5 separate regions of the Homo sapiens genome follow, and regions 1, 2, 4 and 5 are each linked to region 3. The links are contacts of gene promoters, found by promoter capture Hi-C in blood cells and fetal thymus (Javierre and others, 2016). All regions are on one chromosome and are shown on one strand. The core of a region is centred on a gene start or on the middle of the fragment in contact, and the rest is flanking DNA. Distances in the headings are between cores, read along the strand shown.

The links. Contacts are between HindIII fragments. The CHiCAGO score rates a contact against its expected background, and 5 or more counts as called.
Region 1: a contact is called between the fragment with the promoter of GRIK5 here and the fragment with the promoter of CXCL17 in region 3, in 9 of 17 cell types (naive CD8 T cells, naive CD4 T cells, erythroblasts and 6 more). The highest score is 7.7, in naive CD8 T cells.
Region 2: a fragment that was not itself captured here is called in contact with the fragment with the promoter of CXCL17 in region 3 in 14 of 17 cell types (fetal thymus, naive CD4 T cells, total CD8 T cells and 11 more); the score reaches 21.1 in fetal thymus.
Region 4: a fragment that was not itself captured here is called in contact with the fragment with the promoter of CXCL17 in region 3 in 2 of 17 cell types (erythroblasts and naive CD4 T cells); the score reaches 5.5 in erythroblasts.
Region 5: a fragment that was not itself captured here is called in contact with the fragment with the promoter of CXCL17 in region 3 in 5 of 17 cell types (naive CD4 T cells, total CD8 T cells, fetal thymus and 2 more); the score reaches 8.0 in naive CD4 T cells.

Annotation. Positions count from the first base shown.
Region 1 is chr19:42,068,740-42,071,475 of GRCh38, forward strand. GRIK5 (glutamate ionotropic receptor kainate type subunit 5) reads right to left here and starts at 1,467. Exons shown (of 20, transcript NM_002088.5): 1 at 502-1,467. It also overlaps a transcript of ZNF574 not described here. The HindIII fragment of the contact is 24,593 bases long and covers 1-2,736 here.
Region 2 is chr19:42,109,569-42,112,404 of GRCh38, forward strand. The region is part of intron 5 of POU2F2 (POU class 2 homeobox 2); the gene reads right to left. Among named protein-coding and RNA genes, the nearest start is that of POU2F2, 21 kb to the right of the region's middle. The HindIII fragment of the contact is 4,296 bases long and covers 1-2,836 here.
Region 3 is chr19:42,441,685-42,444,384 of GRCh38, forward strand. It overlaps CXCL17 (C-X-C motif chemokine ligand 17), which reads right to left and starts at 1,262. Exons shown (of 4, transcript NM_198477.3): 1 at 1,070-1,262. The coding sequence starts at 1,148. The region is part of intron 1 of LIPE-AS1 (LIPE antisense RNA 1); the gene reads left to right. The HindIII fragment of the contact is 2,256 bases long and covers 216-2,471 here.
Region 4 is chr19:42,158,693-42,161,491 of GRCh38, forward strand. It overlaps a transcript of POU2F2 not described here. Among named protein-coding and RNA genes, the nearest start is that of POU2F2-AS2, 7.6 kb to the left of the region's middle. The HindIII fragment of the contact is 1,185 bases long and covers 790-1,974 here.
Region 5 is chr19:42,087,505-42,090,204 of GRCh38, forward strand. POU2F2 (POU class 2 homeobox 2) reads right to left here. Exons shown (of 15, transcript NM_001394376.1): 15 at 1-2,700. Among named protein-coding and RNA genes, the nearest start is that of ZNF574, 13 kb to the left of the region's middle. The HindIII fragment of the contact is 1,199 bases long and covers 715-1,913 here.

The DNA of each region.
Region 1 (2,736 bases), core at 217-2,716, 370 kb before region 3:
AAGAGAGAAGTTGGGCAGAGTCAGAGAGGGGCCCAAGAGACACAGGAAATGGGGGCTCAAAAGCGGAAAGACATATCCAGGAGATAGAGACTGGACGGGGTGGGGACAGGGCCAAGGCCCACCGCAGGCAGAGGATGAGGCTCAGAGGAACAGAAAGAGCCAGTCTGGGACCAGGACGGAGGCTTGGAGACAGCAGGGGCACGGACATGCCAGGGGCCCGGGGTAAGTGAGAGCCCAAGTAAGAGCAATCAGCCCCGTAGGACCCCAGAAAGCTAGAGGGCCAGGGGCGGCAGTGAGCTATGTACCCAGAAGAAGAGGTGAGAAGAGGTCGAGGTGAATGGACGCTGAGGAGATGGAGGGCGCAGAGCAGGCCCCTAGTGGGGGAGGGTACTTGCCAGTCCGGAGAACGGGGAGAATGTGGTGCCCCCCTGCCAGGCGGCACCAGAGCCCAGCCTTCCAGGACCCAGAACCCAGCCCAATCCCTGCCCTGCAGACACTCACGGATCCTGGTGGGACGGAGGGCTGGGCTCCCTCGAGGCCCGAAGACCGACAGCGGGAGGTGCTCTGGCGCTGGGTGGTGGTGGGGCTGGGCGGGGGGAGAGGGCAGTCCACAGGGCCCCCTCCCCCGCCGCCGGTGGTGGCTCCCAACTAATCCAAAACGGTGGCTCCACAGGAGCAGGGAGGAAGGACAGGTGGAAGAGGAGAGGGCGGGCCGGGGAGGGGAGGAAGGGGAAAGGAGAAAATGGAGGAGAGAAGGGGAGAGAGGAGAGGGGGAAGGAGCAAATGGAGGGGAAGGAGGGAGGAAAGGAGGAGAGGAAGGTGAAAACGGAAGGGGGGGGCACAGGCAAAGCCGGGGGAGGGGGAAGCTGGCCCAGGAAAGGGCCCCCGCCCCCTCCCCTAGCCGGGCCGGCCTGGGGGGGCCACAGGGGGCGAGGACTGGGTGGAGAAAAGGAAGCCGGCCATCAGGAGAAGTGGGGGAGGGGAGGGCCTGCTGGGGGAGGGGGCCGCCCCCTTTCCCCCTCCCCCCTGGAGCCTGGGCCCTGCCCTGGTTGAGGCAAGGGCCCGGAGTCCTCAAGCCCTCAGCCCCCACGGGAAAAGCATGCTGGGGGCGGGGAGAGCCCGGGAGTGGAGAGCTGGGGAGGATGGAGAGCTGGGAGACCCGGAGAGGCCAAGAAGGGGGCAAATGAGGTGGAGAGATAGGGAGGAGGGAGAGGAGGATGGAGAGGAGCAGGTGGAAGAGAAAGGCGGAGGAGGGTGGGGTGTCCCAGGGGCTCCCGGTGCTGGGCCTCAGTGGGAGGGCCTGGCGACACACTCCTGGTCCCCTGTGAGGAGCCGGCTCCAGTCCCCGGCTCCAGTCCCCGGCTGGGCCTGCCTCCCTGCCGCTGGCTGCCGCCACCGCTCAGTCTCCCCTCCGAGGCCGCCGCCTGCCTGCCCGCCTGCCGCCTGCGCTGGGTCCTGGAGCGCAGTGGGGTGGTTCAGGAGAGAGAGAAGAGGGAGGGAGGGAGGCAGGGAGGAGGGCGGGCAGGAGGAAGGGAGGGAGGCAGGCAAAGAGAGAGTAGGGAGGTGAGTCGGGGGAGGGGGAGCCTGTATTGGTTGGGGCTGGGGGCCCCCCGCGAGGAGAATGCTGATGAGAAGAAGGAGCTGCATTGGATGGAAGGCCCACCCCCGAGCCACCCCCTCTACCACACCATGCCACCGCCCTGCCCAGGCAGCCCTGGGCACAGGAGCCCACAGAGATGAGAGGCAAGAAGACCCAGGGAGAAGGCCACTGAGATGAGGGGAGAGGGCTACAGAGATGAAGAGAAATGAAGAGAAGAGAGACAGCCGTCAAGACTGTCCAGAGAAGTGGGCTGAGGCCCACAAACCCCACAAGGACAAGGACAGGAAAAGCCCAGGGATAAGAAAGAAAGGCCCATGGAGACAAGGGAGCAGCCTACAGAGACAAGCAAAAGGACCTCGGAGACAAGGGGCAGTAATGTGGACATAGAGACCTCCCGCGAAGGAAAACGGGAGAAGCCAGAGACACAAGAGAGAGGCCCCTGGAAACAGAAAGCACTCCTCAGATATGGGGAGCGGTCCACAGGGCAGGGAGAGAGCCAAGGAGAGCCGAAGAAGGTCACAGAAACAAGGGAGGCCTACAGACACCAGGGTACCAAAAAGACAAGGATGTGGCTCATAGACACAAGAGAGCCACTGAGGCAGGAGCTGCCAGCCTGGAGATGCGGGGCAAGCCTCCCCCAATATAAATAGCTCCTATAGAGGTGAGGGGATGGGTGGTGAGTATGAGAATTCCCTATAGTGCACAGAGAAATCCTTGGGACCCACAGAGATGAGTGGGTGGAGAGAAGGGGCCCTCATTCTCTAGTCACAGGAGCAGAGAGGCAGTGGGAAAGGTGGATGGGACAAGGAGAGGAAGCTGGAGGGCAGAGCCAGAAGTGGGAGACTCCTTCCCAGGGAACACCCTGCAGCCTCTCAGAAGGAGCTGAGCAGGACAGGGGGATGGAAGAGAGAAGCGACACAGATCTTGGAGTGGGGGTGGGTGGTGCATGGCTGGGTGGGGGGTGAAATTTGGGGGGAAGAAACATGACAGTTGGCGCCGAAGGCTGAGCCCGTGACTCACCACCACCCCCGATGCTCGTGATGGGGAGGAGACACTGACACACTCACGTGCGGCCCACAGCATATGTGACCGCATGCCTCGAACACACAGCTGGCACATGGCAACTCCTGGACCAC
Region 2 (2,836 bases), core at 178-2,677, 330 kb before region 3:
TGTTCTATTGCACGGTGACTACTGCTAATAATGTACTGCATATTTCAAAATATCAAAGACAGAGTTTTAGTTTTAGTTTTTGTTTTTTAAGAGACAGGGTCTTGCTCTGTTACCCAAGCTGGAGTGCAGTGCGTGATTATAGCTCACTGCAGCCTTGAACTCCTGGGCTCAGGCCATCCTCCCGCTTCAGACTCCCAAGTAGCTGGGATTACACTGCGCCACTGTGTCTGGCAAGAAGAGTACTTTAAATGTTTTCACCACGAAGAAATGATAAATATTTGAGGTGATAAGTATGCTAATTAGCCTGATTTGATCATTCCACAATGTATACCTGTATCAAAACATCATATTTTACTCCATAAATATATACAATGATTATTTGCTACTTAAAAATAAAATAAAACTCAGCTGGATGCAGTGACTCACGCTTATAATCCCTGCACTTTGGGAGGCTGAGGTGGGAGGATCACTTGAGGCCAGAAGTTCAAGACCAGTTGGGCAACATAGTGAAACCCCATCTCCACAATTTTTTTTTTTTTTTTTACTTATCCAGATATGATGGTACATGCCTGTAGTCTCAGCTACTTGGGAGGCTGAGGTGGGAGGATTGCTTCAGCCAGGAGGTTGAGGTTGCAGTGAGTTATGATGGCGCCACTGCACCTCACTGCAGTGAGTTATGATGGTGATAGAGCAAGACCTCGTCTCTAAAAAAATGAATAACTACATAAATAAAATAAAACTTAAAATTAAAATGAGGTCAGGCTTTCTGACACTCTGAGTAATCTCAGTCTGTCTGGTGGTGGGACGCACTGCCTGGGAAGGGAGTGGGTGCCTGCCATGGAAGCCACCTGGGTGAAAATCCCCACCTGGCAACAACACCAACAAGGAAACGCCTAACCTAGGGGAAGGTTAGACTAGTGGGGTGCAAGGGTCCCTTCCAGCTTGGAAACTCGGGGGTTTGAGCCTTAGCCCTCTCACCTGCTTCTTGCTGTGTGCCTGGGGGAAGCCACTTTCCCTCTGGGCCCCAGCCTCCTTAACTGTACAGGATCACGATGCAAGTTGTTATGGAGAGACCTGGGCCTTGGAGCCCAGAATCCTGACTGCCCCTCACACACCTCAGGCCGTTCCTTACCCTCTTTAAGCCTCAGTTTCCTCAGGTGACACCACAATAAGTCTTACTTCATGGAGCTGTTAAAGGAATTAAATGAGACAATATGTGTAGAATGTTTAGCCTGATTCCTCTTCACTTAATTGGTCCTTCATAAATGGCAGTCATTATGACTGAGTCATTTCTCTCCCAGGGCCTCAGTTTTCTTATCTGTAAAATGGGGATAATAATGTCTACTTTTTCACTGGGTTGTTCTGAGGCCTGAGTAATATTATCTAGAAAGCATTTTGGAAATTACAACATATCCCTCAAAATGAGCATTTGCTACCATTGCCCACCTCATGTCACCACACTTGAATGTGAGCTCTTGAGGGTGGGAACCCAATCTGGCTGAGTCCTTCCTTCCTTCCATCTGTCCATCTATCCTTCTTTCCTTTTCTTTCTTTCTCTCTTTCTTTGGAGACAGGGTCTTACTCTATCTTCTGGGCTGGAGTGTCATGGTGCAATCATAGCTCACTGCCATCTTGACCTCCCATGCTCAAGCGATCCTCCTGCCTCAGCCTCTCAAGTAGCTTGGGGGCTATGGGCATGCATCACCACACCTGGTTAATTTTTTTTTTTTAAGATACAGGGTCTCTCTATGTTGCCCAGGCTAGTCTCGAACTCGCCTCAAGCCGTCCTCCTGCTTTGGCCTCCTAAAGTGTTGGGATTATAGGCATAAGCCACTGTGCCTGGCCAAATTCATTCTCTTCCTGACAACTAACAACTTCCAGCTCCTGCCCAGATACTCTGCTGAGCTTCAGCCTCAAATATGCATCTGCTTAGTTGATGTTCCCATGTGGATGATTAATAGACTCATCAAACCCTAACATGTCCAAAATGAAACTGCTGGCTCTCTACCCCAGCCTTCCAAAACATCCCATTCCTCCCATCTTCCCCAACTCAGGAAACCACGTCATTACCACCCAGCTGCTGAAGCCAAAATCCTAGGAGTCATCCTTGACCTATCCAATCAATACAAAATAGCAACCAGGATCCCCATCCTCACCCTCCTGGCTCAAGCCACCCTCATGTCCCATCTGTATGCCTTCAAGGACTTCCTACTGGGCTCTCTTTTCTACTCTTATCCCCTGCAGTCCATTCTCCTATCCCCTGCAGTCGATTAGTACAGTCACTCCACTAGGGCAAGCTCTAAAGATGGGAGTAGGGGCAGAGGAGTGGCCGTTCTCCAGTGTGGGTTCTTCTCTGGACCCCCAGTGGTTGGCCCTGTGACATGGAACCCAGGAAGTTGTGGCGATCAGGGCAGAATACCACAAATGGAGAATGATTCAACAGGGAGAAAAAAATACCTACATATGGACTGCATATTACATCACATGCTACCTTATGCTAAAATTCCAGGACAGACAGGCAACAGCAGATCCCAACCCAGGAACCAGTGGGAGCAACTGGCATGCCTGGGCCAGGCTCCTGGACTCCAAGGCCCTGTGGATGAACTGACCACACACCTCCAGGTGGGCAGTTTTGATTGGCCTGGTACCCACTGCCCCTTCTTCAACTTATTCAAGCAACAGAACCCATCTCTTTCAGGGGTTACACTTTCCCATCCTCAAGTCACGAGGTCCAGGTAGGGCTGACCTTGCCTTCTCTGGGGTCGAGGGCAAGGGCTCAAATCTAGCCAGGGGACGTGTTTTTGTTTGTTTATTTTATTGAGACAGAGTCTCACTC
Region 3 (2,700 bases), core at 12-2,511:
GCTGAGTATGTAACATAGCCATTTCACCTCAAAGTGGCCTTTGGGGAGATGGTGCTCACAAGCGGAAATATACATGGGGATCAGGTCTTTTCTGCGTGGTTGCTCTGTGCAGGGCTGGGCCACTTTATAGTGAAAGCTGGAGCAGATTTGGAACCCCTAAGCTAAAGTCGGCTTCCCAAAATGTGAGCTGTTACAGCAGGGCTTGCTATGGATAAAGCTTCAAATATGGACACTACCTGGTGACAGGCTTTTTCTAGTTTATTACGTTACCAGTAAATAGCATTAAGACATGTTGGTGGCATTCCAGTGCACTGTAAAGAATAGAAGCAAGGACTTCCTGATCTTCTATAAAGGTACCATTGCCTTCAACACTCTCCCACCATCATCATTAAGTTTAGCCATGAGAATTATGTTACTCTTTTGGAAAAGTGTTGGGGGAGAAGGCATGGGAGCAAATCTTTGTTGAGCTAGTATATACATACATACGTACGTGTGTGTGAGGGGGATCAGCTACAATTGCAGATATCTTCTTTTCTTTTCTTTCCTTTTTTTTTTTTTTTTTTTTTTGAGATGGAGTCTCACTCTGTCACCCAGGCTGGAGTACAGTGGTGCCGTCTCGGCTCACTGCAGCCTCCACCTCCTGGGTTCCAGCAATTCTCTGGCCTCAGCCTCCTGAGTAGCTGGGACTACAGGTGCGTGCCACCAGGTCTGGCTAATTTTTTGTATTTTTAGTAGAGATGGAGTTTCACCGTGTTAGCCAGGATGGTCTCGATCTCCTGACCTTGTAATCCGCCCTGCCTTGGCCTCCCAAAGTGCTGGGATTACAGGAGTGAGCCACCGCGCCCGGCCAGTTGCAGATATTTTCACATACAATATCTCGTTTAACTCTCTCAACATTGTTTGGGTGTAAGTACAGTTTGCTGTTTTTTTGTAAAGGAGGAAACTGGCATTGAGAAAGGCTCACTTGCCCCATCCCCCATAGCTAAGAGAAGCTGCATTTTGATGTGTCTGTGGCCTGTTTTGCCACATTTCTCCCCCCGTTTTCCCCTTCATAGACAGTCTTGTTTACCTGGATTCAGGCTGCTAGAGACCATGGACATCAGCATTAGTGGCAGCAACAGGAGGAGGGAAGAGATTAGAACTTTCATCGCAACTGTCGGTGCAGCTGTAAGTTGCTTGAAGAATATAATGGAAGGTTCCCTGCTGGAGGCTCCTGATCCCTGGGGATGACTCAGGTCAGGATACTCAGCCTGGTGGTCTATGCTTTAGTCCCAGGCCAGCGTTCCCATTTGAGGGCGAGAACAGGTGAGGTGACGCTGTCTTGCTGTTACGTAACAGATTAGACCATGTGCTTTATGGGAATCTGGGAGGTGAAACTGGTCAAACAAAAGAAATTCAGCATTCTTAAGAACATAAGAAGGTGACTGATAACTTGGCAGCTGTGCCAGTTCTCTCCTGTACTCTTTCCCGCCTCCTCACACCCCAATGCCTCATGATTTCTTCCTCAAATCTTTTTTTCTTGCTTGGATTTCCTTATACCTTTCAATGACCCTCTCTATCTGAATATTTGGCAGGAAAGTGGATACTAAGTGTTGGTAGAAGAGACTTTGACAAGGTCTGTTTCCCCTCTGTGCTCCTGCTCCCATCCTTGGCAAAATATCGGCAATAGTAGTGTTGTTGCCTGGGAAGTTGCCCTGTCCTCTCTCTGTTCACAATTCCCTCCAATTCTGCAGCCACATAAGATGGCAGCAGAGCAGGATCCGGGACAAGAGGCAGCTCCCCTGCCGAGAACACCGCCCCTGGAGCAGTGGGTGACACCAGGCCTCCTTGTGTGTCCATCGGGAAGGTGGCCATGGCTTAGTTGTTCTGGTCTAAAGGGGAGGGAACTGGGTTGGGGGAAGAGACCCCCAGAGCTTTAGGTCTCAGAGGGTTTGAGAAACAGGAGCCACAGGAGGGAAGGAGCCCTGAAGTGTGTTTGCCCAGCTGCTGGGGCGCCTGGCTCCAGCCCTTGTTTGGAAATGGCCCCGGGCAAAAGAAGAAAGGTAATAATACTTGAAGTAAACATTAGGGGCATAGAATATCAGCACTCACTAAACTTGACATTTATTTGAGACTTTAGGAAATGTGCTCAAAGGGAGAGGAGAGGCTGGGCTTGAATGCTGGGTGATATTCATGGGGGCTGAAGGGAAGGCTAACAAGGGAGCCCTTTTTTTGGAAGCCTCCAGGCAGGAGTGAGAGCAGGGGGTGTGACTTTATTTCCCTGAGAGAAGGAAAGAGGAAAGGCATGAGTCAAAGCCCTTTGGTTTTGTTTGACCATTCTTTTTTCTCCACGTTTTCAAATTATCTCGGCCTGTTGACTTGTCACAGAGTTGATTGTGGACTTTGCTACTGCAGTGTTTATAAAGCACTGCAGGGGCCAGGGACTGCTATGACTGAGCCTGTGTCCAAGTTGAAGGCTCAGGGTGGGCCTAAGCTTGTTCTGATGCAAATCACTGATGTGGCTTCTTTCTGGAAAATTCTAAAACCAGGGAGATGACATCCATTTCATAAAGCCTAGAGATATGGGTGCAGTCATCTCTCAAAGTGGCAGGAGTGCAGGGGGACTGAGAGGGACTTGGTTGGGTGGAACTTGAGCTGGAGTTGGGGGAGGATTTGGGTTGGTGGAGGGCAGAGAGGAGGGCCGTGCAGAGCAGGGGCGTG
Region 4 (2,799 bases), core at 132-2,631, 280 kb before region 3:
ATCATGGATATTTAATGAACATCTATTTGAAGACAAATAATTGAAATCATAGACCTAACAGTGACCTCTACCAACTGGAAACATAATTAAACCCCTCTGTTACTTCAGCCCAACTTTCAGACGTTCCTCAAAGCCAGTCTCTAGCTCCCAAACTAATTCTGCAACCTGGAAATTCCTTGACTCTCTTTTCGAGGATGTGAGGATTCCTGGAAAAACTGCAACTTCGGTTCCCTGGAGAAAGCACTCTAGAGAAATGACACATCCTGGAACAAACACTCTCAGCGATAACAGGGGTCCATGAATGAGCTTCAGGGGGTCTGTGATCATCCCAAAGTGTAGCACAACTGGGCAAATGTAGGTATGTGTTTTCCTGGGAGAAGCTCTATACTGTTGTGAAACTAGGTATCTATGGGCCAAAGGTTGCCTGAAATATGTTGTTTGGACCACGAGGAGATTTTGCAAGTTTTGCATTAGTTGCCAACATTTAAAGATTGGAAGACTTCACACACAAGTCTGGGTTCCTGGCTTCTCTTGAAAAATCAGAAACCCTGGCAAGTCAGGGTTGCATCTGTGCATGAGAACAGTCAGTGGAGCTAAAAAGCAGTCCCCCACCCCATGCATTTTTCAGTCCATCATAGTCCCTACAATGCTGGGTTGCAAACCCTGGGCTACAGCTTCCATCTGCTTCTTAAAATGAGACTGTGATTCCTGGTACAGCAAAGGACTCCTACCCAGGAGTCCTACAAGGGCACCCAAAGGCCTCCCTGGGGTCCTGAGACCTGTGGGTTAAGCTTCTCTGGTGGGAATAGGGGTGGCAGTAGAGGGCTGTCCCACCCCAGAAGCCCTGTCCACCCTCCTCCCTAGATGCTCATTGCCAGGGCCTCACCAAGCAAGCTGGAGCAAACACCAGGGCAAATGGCCAGAGCCCCTGCTTCCCACAGAGGTGAGCAGCAGGAGAACTATGGCTTCTACCTGGGAGTCTCAGTGGGCTTCAGGGAGGGGCTTCATAAAACCTTCTTTGTTCAGGGGAACGCTTCCAGCCATATTTTGAGCTCCCACTTCCTGCAGCCACACGATTTCAAGGAATAAGTACTTTCATCTTCACGCCACCTCCATGTGGTAAATGCTATTAATTACCCTCCTTTGACAGATGGGGAAACTGAGCCATGCCCAGGATCACTCAGCCACCTGGCTCTTCTTCCTCTATCTCCTTTTGCTCTCAGGATGGCACTTAAGGTGGGTTCTATTAGTATTCCCATTTACAGACAAGGAAATGGAAGCTCAAACTTTCCCAAGTCCCTCGAAGTCAGGAAAAGAGATTCGAACATAGGTGTGCTTGAACCCAAAGCTGTGATCTGAGCCACCGAGTTACCCCCATCTCTCTCCTACTGAGCCGTAACACTGATCAGCAGAAACACCCACAGTCATCAACACCAAGAACCACTGGTTTGGCCCGAAAGCCACAGGATGCATGGAGGGTGAGAACAAAGCAGTCAGATTCTAACCTCTGGGTGGGCAGAGTGGAGAAGGGCAGCAACACACCCAGGGTGAGGCCAGAGACGAGGATGGGAAAGCAGAGACTTCTGTGAGAAACCAGAAGGTGCATCAATAAGCAAAACTCTAAGGCCGTGGTCCTTACCTCTTGGGCAGACGCAGCGAAGCTAATACATTCAGGCCACCAACCCGGTCCAGTCGAGAACCTGGAGAGAGAGGAGAATGCAGTCAACATCCCGGAGAATTCCCCATCCTCATGCAGGATGATGCACTCCTCCAGTGGAGGAACCCTCCTCCTGTCACATCATCAGGAGCTGCAGTTGGCTAACTGTGGAGTCAGGTGCCTGGAACTCAGGTCCAGTCAGCCACTTGTTGCCTTCAGTAGTCACTTCTGGCCTCTGAGCCTCTGTGTCCCCAACTCATAAATGGGCATACTAGTGCCTGCCACTGTGGAACATCTGTTTTTCCCATCAGACTGGAAGCTTCTTAAAGTGCAGGGACTGTAACTGTGTCTTGAAGCTTTTGTGTTTGGCAGAGGGCCTGGCAAATTTGAGATGCTCAATTAGTGCATAACGGACGACGGAGTGAATGGATGGGTGGATGGAGGAATTAACTGATTAAATGGTGTATCTCAAAGGACTGCTACGAGGAACAAATGAGAAAGAAATTTGAAAAGGTTACTCATTATTAAGTTCCTATGTGCTCTGGGGAGATTAAAAATAAAAGTCATAATGATATTTCTGACTTGTACATTTGTCCATTCATTTGTGCATTTAGTTCATCAACAAATATTGAGATTTCTCTGGCTCTGAATCAAGTGTGGCAGGGGACAGAGATGAATTAGACAAGGTCTCTGCTCTATTACGGGGCTCACAGGCAAGTTGAGGAGACAGAAGGAAGAGCCAATGCCAACATGCTGGGGTAAGCAGAGGGTGCTGCGGGCATCCTGGGTGAGATCACAGAAGACTTAGGGAGGAAACAACACCCAAGCCAAACCTGGAAGACAAATTTTAATCAGAGAAAGAACCAGGTGCAAGGAACGAGAGAATGCCAGGACTTTGCCTGTCCAGGGTTCAGTAAGAAAAATGGGGAAAGACGAGGCTTCCAGATTGCAGGGGCTGCTCCCTGCAGGGCGTCAAGTGCCTGGTCCAAGCAGCCAGGGCTTCGTCAGAGAGGGAGAGGGATACAATCCAGTTTGCCTTTGGAAAGGTCCTTCTACCTCCTGTGTACAAGATGGAGAGAACAGAGAAGTAGGCAAGAGGTCAGGAGGCCCATCCCCAAAGAGGGTTTGCTGAGCCTCTCCAC
Region 5 (2,700 bases), core at 64-2,563, 350 kb before region 3:
TGGGTTCCCCATCCCTACCCACCCCCACACACACACCCACCCCACCCCCCAGAAGAGAACAGAGAGAGGTGGTTTAGTTACTGGCATCAATTTTTTTTTTTTTTTTTTTGGCACAATGAAAAGGCCCACCATTAGGGTAGACCCAGTCTCTGTCCCTCCCTTAAGTAGGAGGTCAGGGTTGGGGAGAAGAGAAATTCAGAGGGCTCCCCACTGCTCCAACCCACTCATCTCTCCTCTCTTTCTAGCCCAGGCCCTTGGCCCCCAACCTCGGACATCTAACCTAGCCCATAGCCTAGCCTGGGGTTGCCCTCCCCATCCCCCACATAAAGCTCCCCAGCCCTCCAACTCTCTCGCTCATACACAGACACACGGACACAGGCTCTGTACAGACCACAAAATAAAAACGATGAGATAGTTTTGTTTCCCGGAGTCGAGACGGGGGACCAGAGTGTAAGGGGCAGATGGGGGTGGGGGGCATGAATTCCCCCATCACCTTCCCAACCCTGGCTCCCTCCAGCCCCCCAGCCCCTTGCCCTGGCTGGCCCCCAGCCAACGATATTTGGTTTCCTTTTTTTAACATTAAAGTTCTATGAGGTATTTGGTGCCTTATCTCGAGTCCTCAGGGGAGGGGGGCCCAGGGGGAGACCTGGGGCTCACCTGCCCCTCCCTCCCTCCTACCCCCTTCCCAATATTTGGTTTCACAGCTGTAGTTAAAGCTTGGGATTTGGTTATTTTTCCCCCTCCCAGGAATTTTTTTTTCTTGTTTTTCTTTTCCTAGGTGTGAGGGTTGGATGGGGAGGGTCCCCAGCACCCCCGGCTGCACAGGGGTCCCTCCACCAACATCAGGGCATCTGCCCCATCCCTGCCCCCTGCTCCTCCTCTCCTCTTTACCCCACTCCCACATACTGGGGTGGGGAGAGGTCCCAGGTGGTGGGACTTGATGGGGAGGAAGCAGGATGAAGTGGGTGGTGGTGAGTCCTGGATTTTCTTTCCTTTTTTTTTTTTTTTTTTCCTTTTTGGTCTAGAATCATAGTTTTTGTTTGAGTCATCTCCACCATGCCTTCCATGCTGCCTGTCTTCTCGGAGGGGGTTTTTGGTTGTAATTCCTTTCATTTTGCTCTGCTCAAATGTCCTTCCTATTTGGTCAGGAGCCCTTGGCCCCCTCTCCACCCTTGGGCTGGGGCCCAAGCCCTCTTGCCAGTCCCTTCTCTCTTCAGGAAATAAACATGGACAAACTCAGAGGTAGGGTAAGGGCAGGGAGTCGTTCAGCGGAGATGCTTACATTCCGGTGAGGTTGGGTAGACGAGGTGCCAGGCCCCATCGTGCCGGGGTGGGAGGGGCGGCTACTTCACCACTGCCCGGACAAGGCACCCAGAGGCCCCTGCAATGGCCGAGTCTCTGCTGCCTCCGTCGCCCAGCCCAACAGTTTCATTTCCCGGGTGGGAGAAGGGAGACAAGGAAAAAAGAGAACGCTGAGGCCTGGAGCTCCATCTGCCTCTCCTCAGAGTGTCCGGCAGAAAGTGGAAGCTGCCCAGGCCAAAGCCCTGCGGTCTCAGGGCTCTCCTCTCTCTCTGCTCCTGCCCAACAAGGGGCAGGGGCCACACTACGGCTGTCAGGCCCCACCCTGATTTCAATGGCTCGTGTCCTTCACTGCAACACTTTGGTTTGAGGAGAGACACAGAAAGAACAAGATTGAGAGAGAAGAGAGGAGAGCAAAGGGAGAGAGAGGAGACAGGAAGGAGGAGAGGAGAGAGGAAGGAGGGGAGGAGAGAGGAAGGAGGGGAGGAGAGAGGTCAGACAAAAGAGAACCGAAAAAGAAATCAAAGGAGGAATCAAACCACCCAAAAGTTGTTAAGTTTTCCTTCATCTGTTCTTTTTGCTTTCTTACTCCTTTTTTTCCTGTCTTTTTTTAAAGCTTTTTCAGTTGATTTGGGAGGGGAGTTTGGGGCTCTTCACCCCTGTCCCTGATACCCTCTCTCAGCCCCGCCCACCCGCTTCCATCTGCCCTGGCCGAGGGACAGGCCCTGCCCCAGCCGCCCCCTCCGGCTTTCCCAAAGACAACGTCCATGAGGTATTTGTGAAGAGAAAGAAGCATCCGTCCTTCCATCCGCCTTGGGGAACAAGGGCCTGGACCACCGGTGCAGGGGCTTGGCTCCGCCTCGCGGTTCCATCTTATTCTTGAAGAGTCCTCATCTTCTTTCCCTTTTATATATATATATATATATATGTTTATATATATATATAAATTTTTTTTCTAGTTTAAATTTATTGTTTGTTTGTTTCTGTTTTTTTGGTTTTCGGTTCAAAACTTTGTTGGCCTCCACAATAGCAGGAGGGCAGGGTGGCTCCCAGTGGTGTCTCTCCTCTGTCCGTCGTCAGTGGAGACGTGTCCGGGGCTGGTCAAACACAGGGTCCAGCCAAGAGTTGTGGAGGTCTTGTGGGAGTGGTGGCCACCACCGCGCCCTCTCAGATGGGGACCACAGGCTGTGGCACTGTCCCCACCACATGGACCCTGATGGGGATGCCATCTCGAGGAACCCCACCACTGGGGTGTGTGCGTGCGTGCATGTGGGGGGAGGGAGAGGCATTCGCCAGTACCAGAGGGGCACAGGGTGGGAAAAGCGAGGTGAGTTCTCTTTTTGGTTTCTGGTTAATGTCAAAGAACGTGAAGGATCCCACGGATAGGCACTGGAATATGAA